Regions from separate parts of the Homo sapiens genome. Here region 2 is linked to region 1. The links are contacts of gene promoters, found by promoter capture Hi-C in blood cells and fetal thymus (Javierre and others, 2016). All regions are on one chromosome and are shown on one strand. Each heading gives the region's core, a stretch centred on a gene start or on the middle of the fragment in contact. The rest is flanking DNA. Distances are from core to core; before and after follow the strand shown.

What was found. The method cuts DNA at HindIII sites, captures the fragments that hold promoters and counts their contacts. A CHiCAGO score of 5 or more calls a contact.
Region 2: a contact is called between the fragment with the promoter of LINC-PINT here and the fragment with the promoter of HILPDA in region 1, in 1 of 17 cell types (total B cells). The highest score is 5.3, in total B cells.

The regions. Positions count from the first base shown.
Region 1 is chr7:128,453,615-128,457,915 of GRCh38, forward strand. It overlaps HILPDA (hypoxia inducible lipid droplet associated), which reads left to right and starts at 2,264. Exons shown (of 2, transcript NM_013332.4): 1 at 2,264-2,409; 2 at 3,587-4,301. The coding sequence starts at 3,655. The coding sequence ends at 3,846. It also overlaps the pseudogene EFCAB3P1. RefSeq lists enhancers at 292-998, 1,907-2,076 and a silencer at 2,177-2,316. The HindIII fragment of the contact is 2,271 bases long and covers 43-2,313 here.
Region 2 is chr7:131,107,623-131,112,406 of GRCh38, forward strand. It overlaps LINC-PINT (long intergenic non-protein coding RNA, p53 induced transcript), which reads right to left and starts at 2,303. Exons shown (of 8, transcript NR_170176.1): 1 at 2,115-2,303; 2 at 98-1,181. It also overlaps a transcript of MKLN1 not described here. RefSeq lists silencers at 192-241, 262-321, 2,379-2,428, 2,509-2,658, 3,809-3,868 and enhancers at 304-1,155, 3,550-4,091. The HindIII fragment of the contact is 3,581 bases long and covers 1,027-4,607 here.

The DNA.
Region 1 (4,301 bases), core at 1,014-3,513:
TATCTTATCTTATTCAGGTCTTGTTTACTCAACCAGGTGACAAGCTTATTTAGAACAAGAATCTGGCTTTATACTTTTTAGCAAAATAATAGCTACTATTTGTTGAGCATATATGACATACTCTTTATGGGCATTATTTCCAACCCTCACAACAACCCTGTTTTACAGATTATTTTCCTCATTTTACAGATAAGGAAACTAAAGTTCAAAGGGGTCAGTTAGCCTGGCCAAGGTGTTGAAGGCAGGACTAAATCCTGATGCAGGTAGCTACATTTGTAGCTGACAGAATGGTAAAGCATAGAGCTGCCCTCACCCAAACCCTTCTTATTTCCAACTGGCATGACCTTTAGACAATGGCAGGGAATATGGGGAGAAAGAATTGTTGGAGAGGTGCCCATCCCTTCTTCCAGCTGTGTGAAGTATAAATTTAGAACTCAAACTAAGTAGAACTCAAATGGTCATTGTAGAATTCCTGCATTCATTCAGCAAGCCTAGGCTGCTAATGAGCAAAACCCCTCACTGGGAGTTTTGTAGTTGATGATACAGATAATGTTAAGATTCATAGAATGTTTTTTATGTGCCAGGCATTGTTCTAAGCGCTTTATATGGATTAATTCATTTAATATCAGGTTAAGACTGTTATGATCTCACAGAACAGCTGAGGAAACAGAACTACAAGAAGGTTAAAGGGTTCGCCCAAGGCCTTCACCTGGCAAAGTAGTGGCGTTTGGATCTGGCAGTGATTTCGCAGCTTGAGACCTATTTAATAACAGTGTGAGAGAAGGGTCACACAGTCAAGCAAAAAAACAGACGAAACTCTGGTATAGCGAAGGACCAAAAGTTCTGCGGGCTGAGCAGGAAAGTTGGCTCCAAATGTCTGCCTGCCTGCCAGCAGACCTCCAGCCCCAACCTTCTGCTTTCCCGGCTTCCCCACCCCCTCATTCCCGACAGACCACAGCCAGCCAGCCAGGAAAGGAGGGGAAAGGTCGCAGTGGGGATGGCTCCTCCCTTCCCGTCTTAGAGCCCTTCTTAAGCAGAGCCCGCCGAGCTCGCTGAGATGTGGAAAGTCACAGGGTTCTTTCCCATCCGGCACGGGCACTTGACCCGGGTACACGGAACCGCCAGTTCTAAAGCCACCAGCGGCCTTCCCTTCCACGGCGTGTACACCCCTTCCCGGGGGTCCTCCCCATTCCCAGTGTCTCTCCGGGACTCTACTTTCTGAGATCCCCCGTTGCGTGCTCTCAAGACAGACCGCACAGTCTTGGCTGGGTGGGTTCGGGGGTGATTAGTAAGGCAGCCTAGCCCCCCAAATCTGGACATAAGGCTGGTCTGTGACCTCCTGGCTCTTTAGTTCAAGCCGAAAGCACCCTTAAAAATCATCTAGCGGCCGGGCGCGGTGGCTCACGCCTGTAGCCCCAGCACTTTGGGAGGCAGAGGTGGGAGGATGGCTTGAGATCAGGAGTTCGAGACCAGCCTGGGCAACATAGCGAGACTGTCTCTATTTAAAAAAAAAAAAGAAGAAGAAGAAGAAAAATCATCTAGTGGCCAATGTCTTCATTACAGATGAGAAAACCGAGGCCCATTTAAATACCAAGTGACTTGCCCATATGCAGTTAGGATCCCACACCAGGGCCAGGAGTATTTCACGTTTTCTGAAGCGACACGACAAACTCTCATAGAAAGCAGAGCTTGCAGAGCTTAATATGTTGCACAAGGGCCTCACCATTCCAGAGATACCGATGGCAACTGAAACTCGGGATTTGGAATCTTGGTACAGCTATGAAGTGAAACAAAACCAGCTCTTCAGTCCTTGAAATGAAGAAAATAACGAGTGGGGTAGGGGTCTGGTGCCCTCTGACAATTTAGTGCACCCGAAATCTCTGGGGAAGAACCCACCCTTCACGGCGGGGCTTCACGGACACGAAGGCCATCGGTGTTTTTCACCTACTGGGGAGAAGGGATATGTGCTCTCTGACTCCTTCAAATGTTTTCTACAGCAGAGATGGCAGTCGAGATTAATACACACGCCTCGTCTCACTCCAGAACACAATGACTCAAAACCGCACGACGTGTACTTTTGGAAACAGCTCCGCGGGAGAGCACCCGGGACAATCCCCAAACCCCGTTGCCCGCGGGGTGGGGCCGCGGACGTGCGCCACGTCGTGTGCGTCCCGGGCGTGCGTGCGGCCTCCAGTGCGCGTGCGCGTACCCTCCTGGGGCGTGCTCGCGGCTATAAGGGGCGGAGGCTGGGCGGCGTTGCTCTGCGCTCTGCGGCTGACGGCGCTTTTGTCTCCGGTGAGTTTTGTGGCGGGAAGCTTCTGCGCTGGTGCTTAGTAACCGACTTTCCTCCGGACTCCTGCACGACCTGCTCCTACAGCCGGCGATCCACTCCCGGCTGTTCCCCCGGAGGTGAGCGGCCCTGTGGGCTTCCCCGGCTCCCCACCCCCATCGCTAGAGTGCTCGCCGCGCTAGCAGCCTCGCGTTCCAGGGCTGGGGGTGCGCCGCCGGGATCCTCTCTGATCGCCCACGCCCCATCTGGGGTCCCCATTCAGCCGTCAGCCCTGTTTTGTCCTAAGGTGGTCCTAACTAGGATCCACGTGGCCCATCCCACGCCCACAGGTGCTGAGTTAGGCATCCCTGCCATGCCCTCCCAGAGCACCTTCACGATCTCCTTGCTGTCCCAACACTTAGCGTGTTGCGTGTTAACTACCCTTTGTCTATAAGGTTTGCAATGTGGCCCTAGTATCTTCCAGGGTACCTAACACATTGCAGATATTCATGGTATGTTTGTTAAATAAATGAACTTGATAGATTTGACCCTCATAGAGTTATTTGGACTTGCAAAAAGTTTGTAGTTAACTCCAATCTGTGATGTGGGAGAGACTTCTAGGCAGGTTCCTTTCTCCAGGGCATGTTCTTATATTTCCCATTACCCACCACCCCCCTGCAAAAGGACTGGGCCTATTTCAGGAAGGTGACTGATGCCTGCACTGTAGCACAGGGGTTGTGTATTGTGCCTTGCAGGAACAAAATTTTCAATAAAGTAAATGTTTGTTTGTTTGTTTTTGAGACGGAGTTTTGCTTTTGTTGCCGAGGCTGGAGTGCAATGGCGCGATCTTGGCTCACTGCAACCTCTGCCTCCCGGGTTCAAGCAATTCTGCCTCAGCCTCCCGAGTAGCTGGGATTACAGGCATGTGCCACTATGCCCGGCTAATTTTTGTATTTGTAGTAGAGACAGGGTTTCACCATGTTGGTCAGGCTGGTCTCGAATTCCTGACCTCAGGTGATCCACCCGCCTCGGCCTCCCAGAGCGCTGGGATTACAGGTATGAGCCACCGCGCCTGGCCTAAGAAAGTAAAAGTTTTAAGAAGTGTTCTTGAATTAGTCCAAGAAGCAACACTGGCTCCGCAGCCATGAAGTTTGCAATGTAAAATATTCTTGGAGAGTTGCTGTGCAACTCCCTGGTCCCTGTGTCCCTCACTGGCTAAGCCTCTCCTTCAGCCCTGTGAGAGGACAGAAGAGTCAGGGCTGGATGCATGCATATCCCCAAAAGGCTATAGATTCATCCTTTCCTCTTTTTTCTCAGGGTCCAGAGGCCTTTCAGAAGGAGAAGGCAGCTCTGTTTCTCTGCAGAGGAGTAGGGTCCTTTCAGCCATGAAGCATGTGTTGAACCTCTACCTGTTAGGTGTGGTACTGACCCTACTCTCCATCTTCGTTAGAGTGATGGAGTCCCTAGAGGGCTTACTAGAGAGCCCATCGCCTGGGACCTCCTGGACCACCAGAAGCCAACTAGCCAACACAGAGCCCACCAAGGGCCTTCCAGACCATCCATCCAGAAGCATGTGATAAGACCTCCTTCCATACTGGCCATATTTTGGAACACTGACCTAGACATGTCCAGATGGGAGTCCCATTCCTAGCAGACAAGCTGAGCACCGTTGTAACCAGAGAACTATTACTAGGCCTTGAAGAACCTGTCTAACTGGATGCTCATTGCCTGGGCAAGGCCTGTTTAGGCCGGTTGCGGTGGCTCATGCCTGTAATCCTAGCACTTTGGGAGGCTGAGGTGGGTGGATCACCTGAGGTCAGGAGTTCGAGACCAGCCTCGCCAACATGGCGAAACCCCATCTCTACTAAAAATACAAAAGTTAGCTGGGTGTGGTGGCAGAGGCCTGTAATCCCAGCTCCTTGGGAGGCTGAGGCGGGAGAATTGCTTGAACCCGGGGACGGAGGTTGCAGTGAGCCGAGATCGCACTGCTGTACCCAGCCTGGGCCACAGTGCAAGACTCCATCTCAAAAAA
Region 2 (4,784 bases), core at 1,053-3,552, 2.7 Mb after region 1:
GGAGGGGACGCCTTCTTCACGCCCTGAGATCGCAAAGGAGAGCAAAATTCCCATCCCAAAGTCCTGCGGGACCGGCTTCCCCACCCGACGAACTTACCCCAGGGCTGAACGCACGCTGCTTTAGCTCCTTGCCTCGTTCCTTCCTCCCGGGCGCGACGCGAGGTGAAAATGATGCGCACGTAGATTTGTAGAGCGTATTCTTGAGAATTTCCCTGGGATGAATCGGGAGGAGCGGTGGAGACTCCGGAGACAGGTGCCGCGCTGGTCTGGGCTGCCGGCTAAAAGTTGTCCTCCGCGCGGTGGGCGGTGGGGTCCCCGGCCAGGGCCAAGGACCCCGGCTCCCTGCCCCCCGGCGTCGCCCACTTGTCACGCCAGGCTGCTGCGTGCACTCGGCTGCAGGGGAGGTGGCGTAGTTTCTCTTCCTCCCACCTCTTCTCACTCACTTGTTTTTGTAGCCGTGGGCTCCCCTAATGCTTTCCTCTCCACAATGTTGTTTCATTATATCATGTCCATCATGTGACACCAGAGAGGCCTCTCTATGGAAACTTAAAGGGGCTCCCACGTGACTGCAGCAGCAACAACAGCAGCAGGACTGGCGGCGGCGGCCGCAGCGGCGTCCGTACCTCCACCCACCGGGAGCCCCTCGAAGCATCCCGGAGGGGCTTCTGGCGCTGCAGGAGCCCCGATCGGGGAGCCACAGCATCCGGGAGCCGTGGTGTCTGTGCGTGCGTGGAGCCTGTGCTCATGACATAGGAAGCCGAACAGAAGGAGCGTCCTCAAATCCTTTCCTACAGTCACCAAACCCACGCTCTGTTAAAATGACATTTCGTGGCTCCTACTTTGTTTCCCCGGAGAGCAATGAGTTTTCTATCAGGCCTGATTTAGTTTGACAAAAGTCAAAAAGAAAAACTGGATTTGTCCCTCTGCGAGTTCAGTCAGATCGCTGGGAAAACAGAAATGACAAAACAATAATAACAGAAATAGAACCAGGCATTTGATACATAATTACCATCACCACGGCTTTCAAGCTTTCTGGAATTACGTTCCTCCAGTAACTGTTGATGATGCTTGCAGGAGGCAAAATGCAATGCAGTTTTTCTCTTCCGCAGCTATATTAGGGCTTTGTTGCTGACAACAGTGAAAACTTGTTTGTGTCAGGAAGTGAGGTACGGAGATATGACCTGGAAGGTACAGACAAAACCAAAGTGGCAGTTTTTGCATTACTTTTCTGACCACATTCTTTCAAATGGTGACAAGAAGGCGGTCTGCTGTAAAATTCGTGGGGTGTTTGATGGGAAACAAAATAATCAGAAAAACATAATTATCCCTAGCCATACCATACTTGCTAGACGCTAGAAAGTATACATATATGTAATCTCTGTATACATAGAGAAAGCAAAAAGCATGTGCACTTTAATATTTTTGAACCACTAATTTTGTCATCATTTGTACCATTAACAAACACTTGGAAAGACTCACTCAAGTCCAGGGATGTGTGGAAACTCACAATGTTGAGTGCTGTGGGTATTACTGACTCACAGTCCCTTAAAGGGTTTGTACCATAAATCCCAAATTTCTGCCTTAAAGTTTTTACAGACATGGAGATTTTATCCTGTAAATCTAAGCCAGATAGCTATTTCTGGGTTTTTTAGTTCATGCTTTTCCATTTTATAAAGGAAACTGTGTGGATTGGCGGAATCAAGAAAAACTTCGCAAGAAACTGAAGAGTGGGATGGAAGATCTTTTCGTTTGGCCTTGCCTTGACTCTGTCTCTCTCCACCTCATCAGTTTACTTCATCAGCCATGATGAATGAGCTCCATTCCAACCCTTCTAATTCTATAATATCTCTCCCAAGTTTTACCTTCCTATCTCATGCCTAATTCTTTTCATCCCTTTCCTCCTACCTCCCTTGCCTCCCAACTCAGCCCCTTTTCTGCCTGGGGGCTCAGCTCGGGCCTCCCCAAAGACTGTACCCCCCACCCTCCCCTGCAGCTACCCCCACCCCCACGCCCTTCCCAGCTCGGCCTCTCTTCTTTGCAACTCTACCTCCTTACCTCTTTTGACCTCTAATCACCTTCACAGTCTGGCCCTTGACTTCTGGGCCTCTTCTTACCTCTCTTTACCTGAAATGTCCTGGCCCTCACTGGGGTCTCCTCCACACCCTTCTCTCTGGTCCCATCCCTTCTGCTGCCAAGCCCCAGCGTTCCTCCGGCTCGGCCTGGTCAGCTTGAGCCTCATTTTGTTCGCGTGCCCCTGGGCTGGGAAAGGAGTGTGTGGTGCACAGTGGGGCCAAGGATCCCCTGGGGCCGCGGCCTCTGCCTCGCCCCCTCCACCCCTCCCGAGTCCCGGTTGCGGCGCTTCCTGGGCGGATGGCTTGAAATTGCTGCAGCAGCTGCGGTTCTGCTGTGTCATGCAAGAAGGAGGCGGCGGCGGCGGCGGCGGCGGCCGGAGCTGGAGGGGGAGGAGGGGAGGAACCTGATCCTCCGGTAGCGAAGGGCTAGAGGCAAACACCGAGCTCCTCCAGAGCCGCCCGGGAGCAGGGAGGGCTCCGCTAGCCCGGGGGGCCCTCCCCGCGGGGCAGATGGTAAGTGGGGCGGTGCAGGTGGTCGCCTTGGGAAGGGAGCGCGCAGGGGGGTAAGGTGGGGCGGCGGGAAGTGCTAGAAGTCACCCCAGCCAAACTGAAGGAGCCCAGTTTCCAGCTGAGAGGGACCCAGGCCGTAATAAGGATGTCCAGCCAAACGCAGCAATAATTACTATTGGAGTGACGCCCCGAAGTTGACCCCAAGCTACACAGAGGGTGGAGTGGTGCATCCTGAACCCAGGACAGAGCTGGAGGCAATGATTCAGGGTTTGAGAAGTATCAGCCCATCGGCCTGGCGCTTTAAGGTGCAGCTGAGTAGGAAAAGCCAACCCACATCATATTCCCAGAGCCTTGCTGCGCTTTCTGGGTTGTCTTGTTCAAAACTAGTGAAAGGGATGGGAAACCTGCCCAACCTCACTTTAGCCACGAAAATAATGCTCTTGGCCAGTGGCCTTGGACAAACAGCCTCTGGTGCAACAAAACAATCAATAGGAAGAAGAACTTCATTCCCCTCACCATCCTCCTTCCCCAAGTTCCTTTGACCAGCATACCTCATTCGGCTTAAAGGAGAAAGAAAACTATGTGTGACATTCCCTCCCAGCCTACCTGCAGCCAGCCTCCTCACCACACAAACTGCCCATCCCGCTTCTCTCCTCATCTTCAGAGCCATGATTCCAAGAGACATTGCAATACTACTCACTTTAGGTGAGAAGACTGCCTGAAACTCTGAACAATTTCACCTCCCTTGCCCTTTGCCACAGGGGATTCAGAAACCTACAACTGAGAGCAGGGAAATATACGGACAGGCTTGGCACGTAGGAACATTACTTCCTTCACTGGAGTGTAGTTCTCCAGACAACTTTTTAATTATGATTATTCCCTTCCATTGCACTCCTGGAAATTTCAAAGCACTTTCTAAAACATCATTTTTTTTATGTCAGTCATACATTTAGAGGTAAGGGGTTGATGGGATTAACTGAAAGGCTAATGACTGTCTCAAAAGCACATGCTGTTGCTAGGGAACCCAAGCTCCTGCTGCTCTCTAATCACCAGCGTGTTCCGTGGAAATCAAACTGCTCAGGGTGTTATTAAAATGAATGGCATCGGGTTAAAGGCATTCTTGCTTATGTTGTAGCATCCTGGATTATTATCGATTGCCTCACACCCACATATCTTGTTTTCCTAATTTGATTTCTGTATTTGCGTCACTGCCAGGGACACTCAGACTAGACCAGTCAGTTCACTTCCTGTTTCTCAGAACTGGTTTATATTTGGTCTCGTAGCACTAGCTGGTAAAACATTATCAAACTGATCCTCTTGGAAAGAAATCTTTGCTTCCCATTGAAAACAAAATATTCCAATTAAATTGTAATTCCTGTGGAAAACGTCATCATTTGAGGAGTAGACTGCCAGTTGCCATTTGAGAAACAATCCTTGAAATGTAAAGCCTAGAAAAAAAAAACATCATCTTGATTTCTTTTACCCAGAATCTTCATTCCTCAGCACTAGAACTAAGACAAACTCGAGTAAAGAGTAGATTTAAGTATACTTCTAAAATGAAACGCATAAATAAATAAATAAATAAATAAATAAATACATGTCGAAGCTGGGGAAATCATTTAGACTAAACAAGGCATAAAATTGAATGGAATCCAGGCCCAGGAAGGACAAGTAATTTTGGGTTAGCATTGTGGCATTCGGAGAACACAGTGTGACTACAAGGCTACACTACAAATAGGAAACCCCATCACTTTGTGTACTAATTGTCTTTTTTACCAATTCCTCTATGTCCCTGGACAAGACAACCTTGTTTTGTTTTGTTTGTTTTCAGTTCCTTCCTCTTTATAACAAGGATATTGCAAAGGCAATATCAGAAAGATAAGCCCTATGTAAATAGGTGGATTCTGATGTAGATAATTTGTTTAGATGGAAAATGAAGCCCTTTGAAAAAGATGTATAATGGCATCGATAGCCTGGATGACCTTGAGTGAGCCATTGTAGGTCTTATGTCAGTTTCTTCGTGGAAGCTTAAATGAAAGTGCTGGACTAAAGGATTTCTAAGGTTCCTCCCATTTACAAACTTCTGTGATGAGATTGAACTCACTACATAAAAATTTCAATTTTAGCTGGATTTTGCAATGTTAAATTTAAGCACTGAACCTTTAATATCTATCCATAGGAACCTTGAGGGAAATGATGGGA